Regions from separate parts of the Homo sapiens genome. Here regions 2, 3, 4, 5 and 6 are each linked to region 1. The links are contacts of gene promoters, found by promoter capture Hi-C in human tissues and cell types (Jung and others, 2019). All regions are on one chromosome and are shown on one strand. The core of a region is centred on a gene start or on the middle of the fragment in contact, and the rest is flanking DNA. Distances in the headings are between cores, read along the strand shown. Region 1 holds the start of SIX6 (SIX homeobox 6). Region 2 has its middle 45 kb from the start of LINC02322. Region 3 has its middle 2.9 kb from the start of LINC02322. Region 4 has its middle 20 kb from the start of LINC02322. Region 5 overlaps PPM1A (protein phosphatase, Mg2+/Mn2+ dependent 1A). Region 6 overlaps PPM1A (protein phosphatase, Mg2+/Mn2+ dependent 1A).

Region 1 (2,960 bases), core at 193-2,692:
AGGCCGGGCTCTTCCGCAAAATGTTTGGCTAATCGAGATCCACACTCCGGGAAACGAAAAGCCTCGGCCCACGGACTAGTTTGCTGTTTTGAGACAAGAGTGGCAGGCAGCGCATGGGAAGAGGAAAACTCGACTTCCCATTTCTCAAAAGTCCATTGAAAACTGTTTTCAAAGCATTAGGGAGGGATATACCTGGGCTTTGAAAATGATAATTAACATGAAACCGACACATTGCTAATAAGCCAGGCTTCGATTAATAGTAGGAGCCTGTGCCCAGGCTGACAAGAATTAGCTTTGGGTCTTGGGGTCCCTAACTGTTTGTAGGATTTTAATTTTTTATTTCTCTTCCCCTCTCCGTCCCAGTGAAGCCTTGGTTTGGTGACCGGGACCAGCTGCTGCAGCTGCCCGCAGGCGTGGGGAGCCAGCGGGTGGGGAAGCAGAGCCGGCAAGGGAACTCCCGGCCAGGAGCCCAGAACGCAGGGCTCTTAACCCAAGACAGACCGCGCTCCCAACTCCTGCTGAATTGGAGTCGCCAGGGACTGGGTAAGGGCGCCAGAGGTGCCTCCACCCGCCTCCTCCCCGGTGCGCTCAAAGCGCGGAGGCCTCTAGGTACCGACCTGTTCTTGGCTGCAGCCGCTCGGTCCCTTTGTCGGCGGTTTTTGAACCAGTTGCCCACCTGCGTAGGGGTCAGTCCGGTTGCCTGGGCGAGCTCACGTTTTTTGCTGGGGTTAGGGTATGGATCCTGCAGGTACCACTCGCGTAGCAGGTGCCGCGTGCGCTCCTTGAAGCAGTGTGTCTTCTGTTCGCCGTCCCAAATGGTGCGCGGCAGCGGGAACTTCTTCCTTACTCGGTACTTGTCCACAGGTCCCAGGGGTCTTCCACGCAGCTTCTCAGCCTCCTGGTAGTGTGCTTCAAGCCACAGCGCCTGCAGCTTGGCGTGCGACTCCTTGGTGAACTTGTGGTTTTCCAGGATATGATAGAGCTCGCGGTAGTTGCCACCGTGAAAGGCCACGATGGCTCGTGCGCGTAGCACCGACTCATTCTTGTTGAGGGCCTCGCAGGCCGCAGGGGCCACGGGCAGCGACCAGAGGAAGCGACCCAGGCGCTCCACATCGCCGCTCTCTTCCAGGGTCTCACATACCCCGGCCACTTGCTGGGGGCTGAAATTCAAGATGGGCAGCTGGAACATCGAGGCAGTGCCGGCGGCGGCGAGGGCACTGAGCCCGGAGCGGGACACGCAGCAGATGCCCGCGGGCCTGGCTGAGTGTGCCAGGCGCTTGTTGATGAGGCGGATTGGGGCAGCGGGACACACTACCGGGTGGCGGCGGTGGCTCAACGGCCGGGAGCGGACGACCCCGACTGGAGGAGGTGCTGGCTCCGCGGCTTGGGGTTCGGGCTCGGCTCGGCTCAGGCACGCCGGCAGGCGAGCTGGCTCCGCTATTGGGGTGGGCGGATTGGCGGCGCGGGCGCCATGGAGACCCCCTGTCAGTCACCGGGTGGCTCTGCCAATCAAAGCTTGAATCAGCACGCCAGGACTATTTCAGCACCTCCCCGTGCTCGACAGCGCCCGCCGTTAGCTCCTGGACTTTTCTTCAGTATTTTGCAGAACCTGGAGGTTGAAAAGACATGCGAGTGTCTGGGAGAAAAAGAGAGGCGAGTGCGGCAGCGTTCACTACTCCTCCCTCCCCCACCCCGCTCTACCCCTCCCTCCCTTTTTCCCACCAAATAGGCAGTGATGCCACAGGAATTCAGGAATTCACTTTGGGGCGATGCGTTGTCTCGGTCGAGAGGTCTCCAGAGGACAAAGAGGACTGGGCCAAACTGAAATGCTCCGAGAATTCGCAAGTTTAGTTGTAACGAAACAGCAAACCTTGCGGTGGGAGCAGGAAGCCGGTGGGGGGAAGCGATCTTCTCATTTTTCCCAAGTACCCATCTCTGCATGCCTCCCTCTTCCCCTTTCCAGTTGCCAAAGCAGCTGAGTGGGAAGCAAATCTGGAGCAGCAGGAACAGGACCAGGGATCTGTAGAAGAGGTCAGTTTGAACTCTAGCCTTACTCCCTTCAAAGCCCACTAAAATAATTTTAAATGCCAACAAGGACATGTTCACGTCTGATAACGCAGATGCAGACCACGAAGTCAGACACTTTAAGAAAAGAAGGGTGGGCTGTAGGGACCTCCAAATAAAGGGGGAGAAATATACTTTCTCCCCCTCCCCCAGTTTAATGGACTTGAACAAAGTGCAGCATAGCCACATCTAGAGCCGAGAAGTCATTGGTAGGTCAGGACAGCAACTTAAAAGCTTATTTCCTAGATCTTTTTTAAAATATCGACTTAACTCCTTTCCTTGTAGGCTTATTTTGCCCCTACCTTGTGTTAGAACTTATACCTCTTGAGCTGGGGATAACAACTCTAACCTTGGCATTTTAGCTCAAAAACAATTCAGTAAAAATACAATACAGAAGGGCATCCACGACAATGCGGGGGCCCAGAAAGCACTTCCTAAGCCGCTGATTATTGACCCCTCCTGTAGTGAGGAAGGAGTGGCTTGGTGGCTCTGACTTTGGGCTAGTGGAGTGAATTGGCAACTTTTATTGATTCCCAATTGGCAGTCCACATCATACCATTTTCTGAGGCCTGGGTCAAAGAAACCATGATCTCATCTGGGCCTGTGGTAGGGGTTTGTTTAGTTTGAAGAAAATAACTGGTAGGGGGCTGTATAACAAAAACGCCAGGAAAACCGTTTTGGGGAGGTCCATCCCTAGACAGAAATCAGGTGAGAACGTTCACAGCCGAACTGGACTGGACCCGACTGTCTTTTCTTTAGTATCAAGTACAATTTGTATGCGGCTTGTACAGATCTGGTAAATCAGAAGGCAGATAGATAGCACAGATGGTTGGAGGTGTCGGGTCAGATCACGCCACGCCTGAGTGCAGGGCAAAGCTCGTTCTGACGGAAAACCC
Region 2 (3,425 bases), core at 38-2,537, 140 kb after region 1:
TTTTTCAGTGCCAGAATTTGTTTGTTTCTTTTAAAAAATAGTTTCTATCTCTTTTTTTATATTCTCATTTTGTTCATGTGTTATTTTCTTTATTTCATTTAATTGTTGACATGTGTTTTCTTTTATCTCATTGAGAATCTTTATGATGGTTATTTAAAAATTTTTCAGTTGCAAGATCATGGCTCACTGCAGCCTCAGTCTCCCTGGGCTTTGGTGATCCTCCCACCTCTGCCTCCCGAATAGCTGGGGCCACAGGGGCACACCACCACACCAAGCTAACTTTTGTACTTTTTACAGAGATGAGTTTTCATCATGTTGCCCAAGCTAGTCTTGAACTCTTGGGCTCAAATGACACACCCACCTTGGCCTCGCAAAGTACTGCACCTGGTCTATTTAAAATTCTTTGTCAGGCAGCTCATAGTTCTGCATTTCTTTAAGATCAGTTTCTGAATTTTATTTTATTTTTCTTTCTATTGGGCCATGATTCTTGTTTCTTTGTATGCCTTATAATCTTTTGTTGAGATTTGGGTATTTGTAAAAGCAAACACCACTCCCAGTCTTTGTGCAGATGAACTTCAATCAGCCTAGCTAGAGATTCTAGAGCCTCTCAAACCTTCTCTGATTTCTTGCTTCCCTTGGCATCTGCCTGCAAAACTGCAGCTCTAATGTATGGCAGTGCTTATCTCTGTTTTGATTGGCCTCCAAATTATGCCTTTGATCCATCAAGCAAGACCAAAACTAGTCCCTCTGGTGGCTCCCATGCAACTTAGAACACTGGATGCATGATTCACTCCAGAAGGAGTAGCTTGAGTTTGAGGGGTTTCCTCCTGGTTGCATTGTGCTAAGCCACATGGAGAGGGGACATGGATGAGCAAGCAAAACATGTGAACTTTCTTATCGCCTTTCACTTGAATCCCTTCTTGGTTTTATATTGGCCTGTGTGTTATAGCATCTCAACTGGTCTCATAATTTCTCAGAGGTATTCTGGTTCACATATCGTTGTTAACTTGGTGTCTCTGTAGGGGAAGGAAGGCCTGGAGCTTCCTGGTTCATCATCTTACTGACACCACTTCCCAGTTTGACATTTCTTTTGTCTGTTTGTTTGTGACAGGGTCTCACTCTGTCACCCAGGGTGGAGTGCAGTGGCACCATCTTGGCTCACTGCAACCTCTGCCTCCCAGGTTCAAGCGATTCTCCTGCCTCAGCCTCCCAAGTAGCTGAGATTACAGGCGTGCACCACCACACCCAGCTAATTTTTGTATTTTTACTAGAAACAGGGTTTTGCCATGTTGGCCAGGCTGGTCTAGAACTCCTGACCTCAAGTGATCTGCCCACCTTGGCCTCCCAAAGTGTGATAATTCTTTTGAAAATATGACAATAAGAGATTTGATTTAAGTCTTTTGGTTGTTTAAAAAATACACAGTTTGAATAAACTACATGTTTCAAAATTTTACCAATAGTTTAAAAAATTTTGTAATGAATGGGTTCAAAACCTGCTTATGTGACCCTAGGATATTTCCTTAGTCTTAGTTTTCTCATAGGGTTTATGTGAACACTAATTGAGTTAATATACATAAGCACTTAGAACAGTATCTGATACATGATAAGCACATATAAATCTTGTATTTGTTCCAGAAACATTGTCAATTCTCCTTGCTCTCTGACAATGGCAGTTTTATTTATAGGTAAGAACAAATTCTGTGTAATGGAATCATAATAGGTTTTCGATGTATAATTTTCATCTATGTTGTAGAAGGTAATGCTTTTTAATTTTTGCAAATTCGTAGTTACTATTCTATCATTAATATCAGTCATCCTGCAGTTATTCAGTTCAACAAATACTTACTATGAGGTTACTATGTACTGGAATATATACTCTGCTCTTCAAGAGATTACAATCTAGTGAGGGAGAAGGATAGGCTTTAGACTCTTTGTATGTATATATGACTGAGTTCTTGAAACTCACATATCAGAACTGACTCCAACTACAGTTTGTAGGTCTTAGGGATCTTCCACTGAAGCAGACTATTTAGAATTTCTCCTCCCCAAATCTGCATCCTGTAGTACACCTCTTATTTCTTTATGTTAAGTTTGTTGGCAGAGCACAGTGCTCACACCTATAATCCCAGCACTTTGTGAGGCCGAGGTGGATGGATTACTTGAGGCCAGGATTTTGAGACCAGCCTGGCCAGAATTTGTTTGGCCAGAATATGGTCTGGCTAATATGGTGAAACCCCATTTCTACTAAAAAAAAAAAAAAGAAAAATACAAAAATTAGCTAGGCGTGGTGGCACGTGCCTGTAGTCCCAGCTAGTTGGGAGGCTAAGGCATGAGAATTGCTTGAACCTGGGAGGTGGAGGTTGCAGTGACCCAAGATTGCGCCACTGCACTCCAGCCTGGGTGAGAGTGAGACTGTCCAAAACAAAACAAACAAACAAACAAACAAAAATTTGTTGCACTCTTGGTGTGAAACTTTTGAGAAGATGTTCCTTTCAAGTATGCTCAGCCTTCTGAGGATTGTCAATTAATCAGAAATATTAATATATTGGTGTAAGTGCCATTTTCTACCAGTGCAACTCTGTAAGTGCAAGTCTCTGTAAATATGATCATTCACTTTTAGAGTTTAGTGTTTTCTGAGGAAACAGATATTAAAATATCCAAGAGCTTCTCCTAAAACCATCCTGATTCAACTTTTTTTAAAGTTAAGAGGAAGCACCAGCTCTTCTCTCCCTCATGGTGGATGGGGCAGTGTAGCAGTAGCAGTAGGAGATAGGCATATAGCTTGGGAAGGCATAAGATAGCAACTACTTTCTCCAAAAGAACACTCCCTAATAGCCTCTTCAACCCCTCAGTACTTTTTTATATAGCCAGAAGATGAGTAATAGCTGATGTTTTAGAAGTACACAATCTCTTAGCATTTCCTGAATAGGCATCACACCAACTGACTTTAGACTGTAGGAGTATTTGGTACCTCTTATATTGAGGTTAGCCCTTAGGGATTCTCTGAAAACCCCAAGGTGAGAGTTGACATTCTTTCTTGTTCCTGATTTTAAAATGACTTCTTCTAATGTTTTGTCACTTGAAATGATATTTGCTGTAAATTTTTGGAGATATCTTTAAAAAAAATCAGATTAAGAAGCTTCGTTTTATCCCAACTAAAAACTTATTTATCCCAAATAAAAACTATGAGAGTTTTTATTCTTTTTTTGTGAATAGGTGTTGAATTTTATCAAATACTTTTCTCATCAATTGCAATGATCACATGGGTTTTCTCTTTTAATCTGCTTATATGGTACATTACATTTATAGATTTTCTAATGTTAAAACAACCTTGCATTCTCAAGATGAACCCAACTTGGTCATGATGCATGGTATTTGCAATATACTAAAGGACTTAGTTTTCTAGTATTTTGTTTAAGACTTTA
Region 3 (3,260 bases), core at 584-3,083, 180 kb after region 1:
CCCTCTTGCAAGCAGTCTTAGCTCATCAGTCCGGGTCTGAGTCTTGAGCGCCCAATTCTGCTTCCTCACTGCGTCCTGGGCGCTCTCTGAGCTGGACGAGCCATCCACTGTGGGCTTGGGCCCCGGGCAGGTGCTTACAGGAAAAGGCGGAGACAGCGCCTCCCTCCATGGGTGCAGCGAGGAGAAAAATCCGTGGTGTGTGACCATTTTAATGCATCGCATTTCAGTTCTGCAAATGCAAAGTGTAAATTAGGCTAGAACATGATTGTGAATCAGACCAGACGTCATGATTAATTTATCACTGTGCTCCAGATACATCAGCTAAAATAATATGAATTTAAAGTAACGGTTCCTCCCGCCTTTGTGTTTGCTGGTGAACTCTAAAGAATAGATCACTAGAGAAATAAAGGAACTTAAGAGTCCACTCTATTCTCGTATTAGCGGAGCATGAACATAATTAAACATTCTCAATAAGGTTTCTTCCACCGTTTGAAATTAAATTTGCCCACCCACATTTTGTATCCGTCTGTGTAACACTCACTGATGCACCCTGAGCTGCTGATAAACATTGAGGCGGAGATTAGCTTTTTCATATTTCAGGTAACATTTATGATGCCTCAAGTTCTGGTTCCCAAACTGGCTGATTATCAAAATTGTCTAGGGCCTTGCCACTAAAAGTGTGGTCCATGAAGTAGCGGCACGGTATCACTTTTGAGATCGTTAGGAATGCAGAATCTCAGGCCCTACTCAGACCTGTTGATGGGAGTCTAAATTTTTTACAAGACCTGCCCTCACCACATCACCACCCCCATTAAAGTTTGAGAAGAATTGATGTAGTTTTTTAAAAACCACAAATACCTTTGCTCAGACATCTATATATGTTTAGTAAGCAGCCGAGTTGATTCTTATAAGTTGAGTTGTCAAGTTTGGAGGTCACTGGTCTTTGAGGCTCAAGGTTCAGATGACTTTTATGCTGATGACATGAACCAAATTTATTAAATCAGTGGAACTCTCTCTGAAAGTTTGGTACAGGTGAGTTTATCTGTTTAGTCATCCATGAATTACAAGAAAGCTTATTAATTATTTAGTTAAATAATGACACATTTAGTCCTCCAATTAGGAAAGCTCAACACTAGGAAGGAGGATTTTCTCCTTATGTAACTGGCTCATTCACTCCCAGACTGAGTGTAGGCATGAGGAAATCTTTTGCTTGGCCATCAAAGCCGCCCCCACCCCCTTCGAATGTTCTGACTTTCTTTATAACAGTACCTTTCATTCAGAAGAATACAAACATCCCTTGTGCTGCTGTTCAGTGATGTTGAGGGCTGTACTGGAGGACTGTGTCTAGTTCTGGACCTCACAATAAAAGAGGGATGTGGGGACCTTGGCAAAGGTTCAGAAGATATTTGTAAAGGTTATTTTTTAAATTCAGAATGAATCTTCACATTGTGTGGCATTATCTATAAAATGGACATGAAATGAACTTTGACTGTAGCTTGAGATTTTTACTTTAAGAGAAAAGCAATTGTAGAAATAAGTGGAGGAAGAAGAAAGAATGTCTCTTGAGCACAAGTTCTCACCTTGTGCATTAGTTACAATGACCTGGAGAAATTTTTTAAAACCCCAATGCCAGTTAAGTTGGGGGAGTCTTTGTGGTTGGGACCTGAGCATCAATAGTTTTTCAAGTACTCCAGGTGATTCCAATGCACAGCTCCTGAGCAGTGCTGCTGCAACTTTAATGTCATTGGCACCACCTGGGAAGTTTGTTAAAATGCAGATTGTGGCCGGTGCAGTGGCTCACACCTGTAATCCAAGCATTCTGGGAGGCCAAGATGGGCAGATCACTTGAGGCCAGGAGTCTGAGATCAGCCTGGACAACATGGCAAAAACCTGTCTCTACTAAAAATACAAAAAGTAGCTGGGTATGATGGTGCATGCCTATAATCCCAGCTACTTGGGAGGCTGAGACACCAGAATCACCTGAATTCAGGAGGTGGAAGTTGCAGTGAGCTGAGATTGTGCTACTGTACTCCAGCCTGAGAGAGCAAGACTGTGGGGCAAGAGATTCTGCAATTCTAAGAAGCATCTAAGTGAAGTCAAAGCCCTGGTTTTATGAACCAGGCTTTGAGTAGCAAAGGCTAGCGGGGTTTGAAAGTAAACTAAACTCTCTGCCAGGAAAAATCCATGATCTTATTTTCAGGCCATCTCAAAGTCTCCTATGGCTTTATGACACCTGTCAACATGCAAAAGAGATAACTCCAACCACCACATAAGCCAATGAAAAGAAAACCAAGCCAAGTGCGGGTGCAGTGGCTCATGCTTATAATCTCAGCACTTTGGGAGGCCAAAGTGGGAGGATTCTTGAGGACAGGCATTTGAGACCAGCCTGGGAATCATAGCAAGACCTCATGTCTTTAAAAAAAAAAAAAAAAAAAAGTTTAAATTAGCCAGGTGTGGTGGTGTGCACCTGTAGTCCCAGCTACTTGGGAGGCTGAGCCAGGAGGATCACTTGAGCCCAGCAGTTTGAGACTGCAGCTGCAGTGAGCTATGCACCACTGCGCTCCAGCCTGGGTAACAGAGTTAGATGCTGTCAAAAAAGAAAAGAAAAGAAGGAAAGGAAGGAAGGAAAGAAGGCAGGCAGGAAGGCAGGAAGAAAGAAAAAAGAAAGAAAGAAGGAAAGAAAGAATAAAAGAAAGAAAGAAAGGAAAAGAAAAGAAAAAAGAAAGAAAGGACAGAAAAGAAAAGAGACAGAAGAAAAGAAAAGAGAGAAAAGAAAAGAAAAAGAAAAAGCAAACCGGAAGCCAGGGTGAGGAACACTGCTTTGGATGAAAACATTTAACAATGAACAGTATCTCCTTGAATTGGAAAGTATTTATAGGAGAACTTAAAAGAGAGAACTTTTTCTGGACAACATTACCATCCCTATTCTCACAATTCCATTTCTTCAAGATAGCTTTAGTAGTAAACAGAGTTGTCATATGTGTAATGGGGCAGATGATCAAGTGCAGTGGCAGCTGGGGTGTAAGAGCTGCTATATCTATGCTAGTAACATTTGGTCCAAAGCTGAGCCAGCTCAGAACCTAGATGTTTCTCTGAATTCTGGAGATAGTGAGAACCAGCCACTTTGTCAAGAGATTCCATTCAGCTGTCAACATGATGGCACAAGTCGGTAAAGCAAAATTTAAAAATGTTTAAACTTGAAAATGTCCACAGTAATATTTATAGTTAGCCTAAATGAAAAGGCTTTACATGTACTATCT
Region 4 (3,278 bases), core at 499-2,998, 170 kb after region 1:
CCACTTGGGAAAATGATTTGCCCTTATCAAAAAAGTTGAAGACATGCATGTCACACGACCTAGCCATTAGATATATATATATACACAAGGGGAAATGGTATATATGCACTAGGAAACACATAAAAGAATATTCACAGCAGCAACATTCATAATAGTAAAAAAACTAGGAAAAAAGCCCAAATGTTCAACCATATTAGTATAGATAAATTGCGATATAGTCACACAATGGAATATTATATAGTATTAAAAATGAATGAACTAAAATTACACACCACATAGATGAATGTCAGGAACACAATGTCACAGAAGAATATCTAAATCATCAGCAAGCATTAGGCCCACAGTTCTTTGCCTGGCACTCGAATCGTTCCATAATCCATAAAGCCTATTTAATCTGCCCAATCTCATATCCTTCCCCAAAGCACATTAAGTCATTGTGTCTACTAGGCACTGCTTTTTTCACGGTTCCTCTGGTATGCCATGATCTTTCCTCCTCCCTTGACTTCCTTTAGGTGATCTCCACATGTGGAGTAGACCCTCCTTTCCTTCTCACTCACCAAATCCACCCAGGTAATCAAAGCCTAACCGAGTTCCACGTCCACATAAGCCTTCTGTAACTGCCCATGGTCTCTGAACTTCTGAGTTTACTGTCAAGACCATGAAGTTTTGTGACTAATTGTTTTCTAGGTAAATTTAATTTAACAAGTATGTACTGAACTCCCATTATGTGAAAGGGCTAGTGTGAGGTGCTGCAAGAGGGCATTGAAATTAAACAGAAAATAGTCTCCACTCTCCGGTTCTAAAGTGTGATCTGTAAAAACCGGTTGGGGAATGAAGCAAAGCTGTATGGCTAAGATAGCTCTTGAGAAAGGTCTAAAGCAGCACAGTGGTTTGGGCATGGAATCCACAGATCTGGGTTTCAGTCCTGACTCCAACCCACACACCAGCAGCGTGACCTGGTGCAAATTTACTTTTCTCTGCTTTAGATTCCCATCTGTAAAATACATCGTGGTATTTCCCACTTCCTAGGTTGTGGTGGGGATTACACAAGATGATGCACTATGATGTGCTAAGGACAACACCTGACACAGAGTAAGCAGAGAAAAATCGTGGCTCTTAACAAGGAAGGTGGCTCGGATCTTCACAGATGGAGATGGGGGCAAGGTATTCAAGATTTAGAGAGGAGGCAGAGCTTGTAGCAGGGGAAGTTGCCTCCTGTTCACAGTCCACTTTGCTGTGGTACAGAGCTGAGACAAAAGGAGTCCAGGTAAGGGGGGTGGTTCAAGATATGTCGCACAGAAAGAGACTGGGTCTGAGAAGTGTATGCTTAATTCTGTGGGTAAGTGTATGGGGCAGGTTGACAAATAGAACCATGCTTGCCCCTAAGAAGGCCCTGAGAAGTGAGAAGAGCCGGGGAAACTGATTGAAATCATGTAAAATTTTACGGTTTGGGCTGTGGTACAAAAATAATAATGCCATTAATGGTCAAAACTTGTAAAAATATTAAGTTTACATTTTGCTTCTATGAAAGCATAAAAAAGAATAAAAATGGACACAGGCCTATTGGAAATCTGTAGCTTAAATATTCACTTAACTAAAACAACAAACTTTTTTTTATTATACTTCAAGTTTTAGGGTACATGTGCATAATGTGCAGGTTTGTTACATATGTATACATGTGCCATGTTGGTGTGCTGCACCCATCAACTCGTCATTTAACATTAGGTATATCTCCTAATGCTATCCCTCCCTGCTCCCCCCATCCCACAACAGGCCCCGGTGTGTGATGTTCCCCTTCCTGTGTCCATGTGTTCTCATTGTTCAGTTCCCACCTATGAGTGAGAACATGCGGTGTTTGGTTTTTTGTCCTTACGATAGTTTGCTGAGAATGATGGTTTCCAGCTTCATCCATGTCCCTACAAAGGACATGAACTCATTTTTTATGGCTGCATAGTATTCCATGGTGTATGTGTGCCACATTTTCTTAATCCAGTCTATCATTGTTGGACATTTGGCTTGGTTCCAAGTCTTTGCTATTGTGAATAGTGCCGCAATAAACATACGTGTGCATGTGTCTTTATAGCAGCATGATTTATAATCCTTTGGGTATATACCCAGTAATAGGATTGCTGGGTCAAATGGCATTTCTAGTCAAGAACCCTGAGGAATCGCCACACTGACTTCCACAATGGTTGAACTAGTTTACAGTCCCACCAACAGTGTAAAAGTGTTCCTAAATCTCCACATCCTCTCCAGCACCTGTTGTTTCCTGACTTTTTAATGATCGCCATTCTAACTGGTGTGAGATGGTATCTCATTGTGGTTTTGATTTGCATTTCTCTGATGGCCAGTGATGATGAGCATTTTTTCATGTGTCTGTTGGCTGCATAAATGTCTTCTTTTGAGAACTGTCTGTTCATATCCTTCACCCACTTTTTGATGGGGCTGTTTTTTTCTTGTACATTTGTTTGAGTTCATTGTAGATTCTGGATATTAGCCCTTTGTCAGATGAGTAGATTGCAAAAATTTTCTTCCATTCTGTAGGTTGCCTGTTTACACTGCTGGTAGTTTCTTTTGCTGTGCAAAAGCTCTTTAGTTTCATTAGATCCCAATTGTCAATTTTTGCTTTTGTTGCCATTGCTTTTGGTGTTTTAGACATGAAGTCCTTGCCCATGCCTATGTCCTGAATGGTATTGCCTAGGTTTTCTTCTAGGGTTTTTATGGTTTTAGGTCCAACATTTAAGTCTCTGATCCATCTTGAATTAATTTTTGTATAAGGTGTAAGGAAGGGATCCAGTTTCAGCTTTCTACCTATGGCTAGCCAGTTTTCCCAGCATCATTTATTAAATAGGGAATCCTTTCCCCATTGCTTGTTTTTGTCAGGTTTGTCAAAGATCAGATGGTTGTAGATATGCGGCATTATTTCTGAGGGCTCTGTTCTGTTCCATTGGTCTATATCTCTGTTTTGGTACCAGTACCATGCTGTTTTGGTTACTGTAGCCTTGTAGTATAGTTTGAAGTCAGGTAGTGTGATGCCTCCAGCTTTGTTCTTTTGGCTTAGGATTGACTTGGCAATGTGGGCTCTTTTTTGGTTCCATATGAACTTTAAAGTAGTTTTTTCCAATCCTGTGAAGAAAGTCATTGGTAGCTTGATGGGGATAGCATTGACTCTGTGAATTACTTTGGGCAGTATGGCCATTTTCATGATATTGATTCTTCCTATCCATGAGCATGGAATGTTCTTCCATTTGTTTGTGTCCTCCTTTATTTCATTGAGC
Region 5 (3,128 bases), core at 269-2,768, 250 kb after region 1:
ATAGGTTTCCTGATTTTTTATGTAATGTATCAACATCTTCTAGTTGTGCTGTGATCTGAAGTACATAATCCATAAGTCGTTTTCTTAAATTTCTATAAAGGCATGTATTACACAATTTTTAAAAGTAAACTTTGTAAGTATATAATTGCTAGAAAAACATCTAAGCTAAATTTAGTTGGAGAGCTCTAGTGACTATAAAAATTAGATACTGACCTATTTTCACTACAATTATAGTACAAGCAAAATACTAAAAAGACATGGCATAGAACTATTTAGTTTATAAAGTTTTCTAATAATCTTTTAGCATTTACAATCTCAATTTGCCTCATCTGTTAACTAATTCAGATTTATCAGTTTTGGATAACTTGTCTTATCCAAGTTATCTATAGACAGATCTATAGACAGAAAGTGTCTTATCCAAGTTATCCAAAACTGAAGTGGATTAAATTCCTAGTTTGCTACTTATAAATCGCCGCATATTTGAGGATTTGGACTCAAACTAACCCAGAAAACAATAACTGACTTCCTGATCCAATCCATCCTTTTTTCTCTTCCTTAAAACTAATAAACAAAACACCTCACATAGAGCATCTACAAATGTTTGCTGATAACCTTGTATACTTAAGTTGAAAGAAAGGAAAAATATAACTTATTAAACATTTAAGATGGTAAAAGATTCATTTATATATAAATACATGGGGATTCTAAATATTTTACACATATGAAATGTCCCTGCTGAAAAAAATGACCAAAAGCATTTGCCTCTAACAGACTTCAGTTGATATAATCTAACATTTTTCAAAATAGAGTCACTCACTGAGTTCATGAATTGTGACATGCAATTTTTTTGTGTATGTAGGGAGATAGATGCTGAGGAAAGAGAGAAAAAAACCTTTTCAAGTGAAAGTTCTATTTAATAGCTTAAAAAATGTGTAACCACCTACCTCCTATACTTGAATAGCCACACCTCAAATCGCATGGCCCAAAATGAACTTCTCAACTACTGCCACTTCTTAGTTCCACATCTGAGGAAACAGATCTATCCTTAGTCATAAGCTCATAGAATCCTCTATTTCCCTTATCGCAGCATTTATCTGGTGAATTATCTCTCACTTTAGATTTTAAGATCCAGGAGGAAAGAGATTATGTCTTTTTTGTTCATATTTAACACATGACACTTGACGAATACATGAGACAGATGAATAACAGCCATTATACCTTGGCTTCTCCCTTGTCAACACTGATTATCTTCTATGCAGGAAAAAGTATTTTCAGAGAAGTTGGCCGGCCAACAAACTGTATCCTACCATTTTCCATCTATAGAATACATGGTTGTCTTTTATCCCTACAAAAATATCATAGTGGATTTCTAAAAAGAAAATATTGGACCCTAAAAGAAATCTACGGCTTAATCAAAACTTGATTTTCAGATTACTGTTCATCAATGACTTTAAAAAGTTTATCAACATCATTAGATACACACTCCCATTATTGAAAAATGGCACATAAGGAAGGGAACAAAAGAGAAAAAACATAGTTATGACTAAAAGCCCACACATTTTCTTTCCCTGAGCTATTTATTTATTAATCTGCTCATTCATTCAACATTCATGGATGGATGAACTTTTTCTAAAGTTTTCTCTACACAATAAGCCAAGTATAAAGTAATTCAGACACAAACGAATTTCTGGGAGCTGGGAAATCCATTGTCAATGCATTCAATGTAGTCTAGCCAAAAATATCTCTAACTTAATCTTGGAGTTTTACTACATAAAACAAGTAATACTATTTACACTTATAGAGCTACTTATTTTACTGACTGTAGCAAACCAGAAAAGATCACACTAGATGGCTGACTAGTTGAAACACCTGCTTACTGTATCAAGAAGCATTTACGCAGAAAGAGAAAATGAAGATGACAGATATGGACTAACAAAGGGTAAGCTGTGGGTTGGTCACAAAACAAAAACTGCCACTTCTAAGATTGGCCCCTTGGCAACCAAAACAGTCTTACAGGCTGTCAGAAAGGATAATACCCTACTGCTTTACAAAAAGTGAAAATTTTATTTCCTATCTACTTAACATTCTGAGGTATGATGGCATACTGCAAAGATGTTTTTCTAAAGCCTGGTAAGTTATGAGATTCTGTTTGGAAAAACAAAAACAAAAAAATATATAGCCATCCCTTATCTTTTATCATTCACATTTTCATTTCTGAATTTTGGTAATAAAGGTAAGCACACTTCATCTTTATACACACAGTACCAAATTATGATGTGATCCTACTAGTCATGATAAAGAAAAAGGTAGTACTAAGAATCCAAGACATTCAAAGTTGGTAATGAATTATATTCTTATTCTTTAAAACAGTACAATAGACAATTCTTGAATAACATATTCTTTAAAATAATTAAGCCACCTAAAGTATAACTAAAAAAAGAATGTTTACTTACATCCCTCCCTGAGGTGGTCATATTATAGATGAATACAAAACACCAGCCTAAATTTAAAGTGATTATACATGACCCATGCTTTCTCATAGTCTGCTGTATTTCCAGCTCACATTCAATTTTCTGTCATGTGTTCATCAGAAAATGAACAGGGAGACTATAAAAATTTAACAGTCATATATTGATAATCTCTTTAAATGAATGAAACAAGACCTGTTTTTAAGGAATTTATTTTCAATAAACATTGAAGTTACCATTTATAGTATAATCTCTATTGTAAACTCAGCTAGCTTGTGTTTAAGACTATCTTCTCAGACTCACTGAGAATTTCATTTGAATAAAGGATCTGTGAAATAATTTATATCAGTGGGTTGCAAAGTAGTAAACATGAATAAAATTTTAAGCCATAAGAAAAAAGTGTGTATGGCTTGTGGAACTAATTGTATTATGGCCATATCTTATGCTTTTTTAATATTAAAAAATGTAATAGCTCTTCTTGGGGAAAATTTCTAAAGGGAGCTAACATATGATAATATACTTTTCAAACTTAGTATACACTGCCACCTCAAATCCCAACTCAATCACAAGATTCACTCTCTGGATACAATGGAACAACAGTCATACCCTTCATGTACAAAGATTTTGACCCATCACAATGGCCAAGAGACTTACTTTCCG
Region 6 (3,160 bases), core at 264-2,763, 230 kb after region 1:
TCTCCAGCGGATTACTTGGTTTGTGATCTTGTGTGAAGAAATGAACTTTCCTGTTCCTACAAAGTAAACCTCTTGAGTCTCCACAGTTAATGAAATAAGTATGTTGGGGAGAAATTAAGACACCTACAGCTGTTGACCCACTTCTATCTGCACCATGTTTCTTCTCTGACATAACTCTCATGTGTTCATCAATCTCCAGAAAACCTGTTCTGATTCCATTCTTTACATTTTCCACAGAAGGTGCTCCTGCAGACCCTTTAAAATCCTGGTTATTGGTGATGTGATCTAACAAATGCTCACAGCAGTATTTGGCAACCTGAGAACCAGCATGCCCATCATACACAGCAAAGAATGACCACGATTCAAGTCCACTTGGCAAACCGATCACAGCCGTATGTGCATCCTCCATTTCAACACGCCAGCCTTGCATGCTGCTTAGCCCATATCGCAACCCATTACCCTGCCCCTGGGCATTATGCTTTTCCATCTTTGGCTTGTCTAAAAATGCTCCCATTATGTCTTGATCCTCTAGGTCTGCAAAGGAAGAGAAACAGGAAAGTCAATAACTGTCTTATAAACAAAATATGTACCAAACAATCTTTTTAATAAGTGAAAGAGATATGCGGGAATTCACAACTCGCGATAAGCAGACATTCATTGTGTTGCTGACTTGGAATCTGGAGATTAACAAGGAGGAACTGGGGGAAAGCCTGATGAAGCACAGATCACAACAGACAAAAAGGCAGAAAAAAACTAAAGCATTGGGATAAAGGGGAGAAGGCAGAAAGGAGACCTGGCAGTGGCCATCAACTTAAACCAACCAGGCTAAATGTTTAATGATACAATGAACATGTGTAAGCTCAGGACTAAGTTGTATGTATATCAATTAAGAAAAGCCAAACGAATTCATGACATACCCAAAAAATCTACTAACTCAAATATATCTTGGTTGAACATTCAGGAATTTTCAAGCTTGATTCCAAACTCCCTAGTTTTATTCCCACTGCATGAACTCTGAAAAACTAAAAAATAATCTACTCACAATGCTCCAAATTTGCATGCTCCTTCAAGCCTTTGCTCATGTCAGTTTCCTTAACTGGAAACTCTTGCCTCATCCTATTTATAGAAAAAAGTATACCTATCCTTTTAAGTCTACCTTACATTCTACCTTTTCCATGAGGTTTTTCAGTTTTTGATAAAGTCAGTTAAGTTATTAAATTACTGTAAATGTTGTAGCCTCAAATTTCAAGTTGCAAGCAATTATATATATACATAACGAAGTGTACTGTATACATATATAACAAAATTACTACTAGTAATCTATTAATCATATAGTAATAACATGTACCATTATTATTATACTCTATGACCATTAGGTATATAAAGAAGATCAAAGGGTCTAGTGACAGCCCTGCTGACAAGCCTGAAGGCTCAGCTAATCTAATCCTTTTCCAATACTCAAAAGTTAACACCCGCTGGTCTAGAATGGGCCCACACAAGGCAAAGAGACAGCTGGTTAGAATTTACCTTGGCCCTTACTTGAACAATAGCTTAGAAATGTAGACACCTGGGTTCAAGTAATCAAGTAAGTCACAACTGAACTAAAGGCAATCCAAAAGAAGGATAGCATGATGAACAGAGATTTAATGGAGGTGAAGAGGAGTTAGGTAGTAGGGAATAATGGTGGAGAAAAGTATCTAGGTAAATCACTACGCAGCTCTGAAACTAGGGTATTGATGATGCTAATGATACTCAGCTCAGAGAGGAAACTGGGAGAAAAAGGGCAAGAAGAAAATCCTCCTAGGAAGGAAAGAAAAACATTTGTTTTCCCCTTCATTTTCCTTATAGGTCCAAACTGATACATAGGCAGAAAAGACTGGCTGATTGGCGTGATAAAACCATCTGCCTACTCCTCTGCCTCCTAGTACAGTTCAACTAACGAAAGGTAAGTAATGAAAACTAGCTATCATCCATCCCTTATGGTGATATTTATCAGATTATTTTTCTGACATCAAGTTGATACACACTGCAAAGGTGAGTATTTTGATTGGATAAAGGATAACGTAATAATGACACCTTATTAGCAGGCAATGTTTAAGAAGTATTCTAAGTCCCTCTGGTAAGTGTTTTACAAGCATTACTTCATTTAATCTCTTCAACAACTCTCTAAGGTAGATAATAATATTATCTCCAATTTATAGATGAAGAACCTTAGCCAAGATTAAAGAACTTGGCCAAGATCACTCAACTAATAAGTTTAAAGGAATCAGGGCTCTGATTCAAGTCTGCGTGACTCTAAAGCATCATTAACCCCTAAGAAAATGGGTCTCTACCATGGCTGTGCAACAGAATTATCTGTGGACTTTTTGAAAAATAAATATTTCCAAATCAGAATTTCCAGGGTAGGGTTGGAACCTAGGTATCTATGATTTTTAAATTTTCATATGTGATTCTGAGGCACAGTAAGGTTGCAAACTGCTGGAAAAGATTAGATGGAATGCCTAAGGCAGAAGATGGGGGCACATTAAGGGCCAACAAGAAATAATCAACCAAAATTGCAGTAACCAAGACCACTATCCTAGGTTACAAGACCACTATCCTAGACTAGAAACAACAAGGTGAAGTTTTACAGAGGAAAGACTCCACTACCTTGAGAAAAGGAAAGAAAAAAAGAGACGTGAGTGAAACTCAAAAAATTAAACACATTTAAGAGACAAACCAACAGAAAAGAATAGTAATGACAAACTTCCTTCCTCTACGAATTCACCAATAGCATGAAGTACTAAAGAAAATAAGTTATGAAATTAGACCAATGTGGGTTTAAATTCTGGCTCTACTACTTAGTAATAGTGTGACTACTGAACCTTTCCGAATCTCTTTCTCCATCTGTTCCTGTATAAGCATATAAGAAGGCAGCCAGGTGTGGTGGCTCACGCCTGTAATCCCAGCACTTTAGGAGGCCGAGGTGGGTGGATCATGAGGTCAGGAGTTCTAGACCAGCCTGGCCAATATGGTGAAACCCCGTCTCTACTAAAAATACAAAAATTAGCCAGGCATGGTGGCGCATGCCCGTAATCCCGGCTACTTGGGAGGCTGAGGCAGAAGAATGGCTTGAACCTGGAGGCAGAGGTTGCACTGAGCCAAGCTGAGATCACATCAC

What was found. The method cuts DNA at HindIII sites, captures the fragments that hold promoters and counts their contacts. A contact is called where the count stands out against the background at its distance.
Region 2: a contact is called between a fragment that was not itself captured here and the fragment with the promoter of SIX6 in region 1, in 2 of the 25 tissues and cell types used here (bladder and liver).
Region 3: a fragment that was not itself captured here is called in contact with the fragment with the promoter of SIX6 in region 1 in 1 of the 25 tissues and cell types used here (mesendoderm cells).
Region 4: a contact is called between a fragment that was not itself captured here and the fragment with the promoter of SIX6 in region 1, in 1 of the 25 tissues and cell types used here (thymus).
Region 5: a fragment that was not itself captured here is called in contact with the fragment with the promoter of SIX6 in region 1 in 3 of the 25 tissues and cell types used here (H1 embryonic stem cells, IMR-90 fibroblasts and bladder).
Region 6: a fragment that was not itself captured here is called in contact with the fragment with the promoter of SIX6 in region 1 in 2 of the 25 tissues and cell types used here (mesendoderm cells and thymus).

What each region holds. Positions count from the first base shown.
Region 1 is chr14:60,507,628-60,510,587 of GRCh38, reverse strand. It overlaps SIX6 (SIX homeobox 6), which reads right to left and starts at 1,442. Exons shown (of 2, transcript NM_007374.3): 1 at 618-1,442. The coding sequence starts at 1,189. It also overlaps a transcript of C14orf39 not described here. The HindIII fragment of the contact is 5,424 bases long and covers 1-2,960 here.
Region 2 is chr14:60,366,677-60,370,101 of GRCh38, reverse strand. No RefSeq gene overlaps it. Among named protein-coding and RNA genes, the nearest start is that of LINC02322, 45 kb to the right of the region's middle. The HindIII fragment of the contact is 7,405 bases long and covers 1-3,425 here.
Region 3 is chr14:60,324,485-60,327,744 of GRCh38, reverse strand. No RefSeq gene overlaps it. Among named protein-coding and RNA genes, the nearest start is that of LINC02322, 2.9 kb to the right of the region's middle. The HindIII fragment of the contact is 3,430 bases long and covers 119-3,260 here.
Region 4 is chr14:60,341,489-60,344,766 of GRCh38, reverse strand. No RefSeq gene overlaps it. Among named protein-coding and RNA genes, the nearest start is that of LINC02322, 20 kb to the right of the region's middle. The HindIII fragment of the contact is 4,956 bases long and covers 1-3,278 here.
Region 5 is chr14:60,256,861-60,259,988 of GRCh38, reverse strand. The region is part of intron 1 of PPM1A (protein phosphatase, Mg2+/Mn2+ dependent 1A); the gene reads right to left. Among named protein-coding and RNA genes, the nearest start is that of PPM1A, 9.2 kb to the right of the region's middle. The HindIII fragment of the contact is 8,153 bases long and covers 1-3,128 here.
Region 6 is chr14:60,280,058-60,283,217 of GRCh38, reverse strand. PPM1A (protein phosphatase, Mg2+/Mn2+ dependent 1A) reads right to left here. Exons shown (of 6, transcript NM_021003.5): 2 at 1-534. The coding sequence starts at 514. Among named protein-coding and RNA genes, the nearest start is that of PPM1A, 32 kb to the right of the region's middle. RefSeq lists an enhancer at 1-937. The HindIII fragment of the contact is 7,012 bases long and covers 1-3,160 here.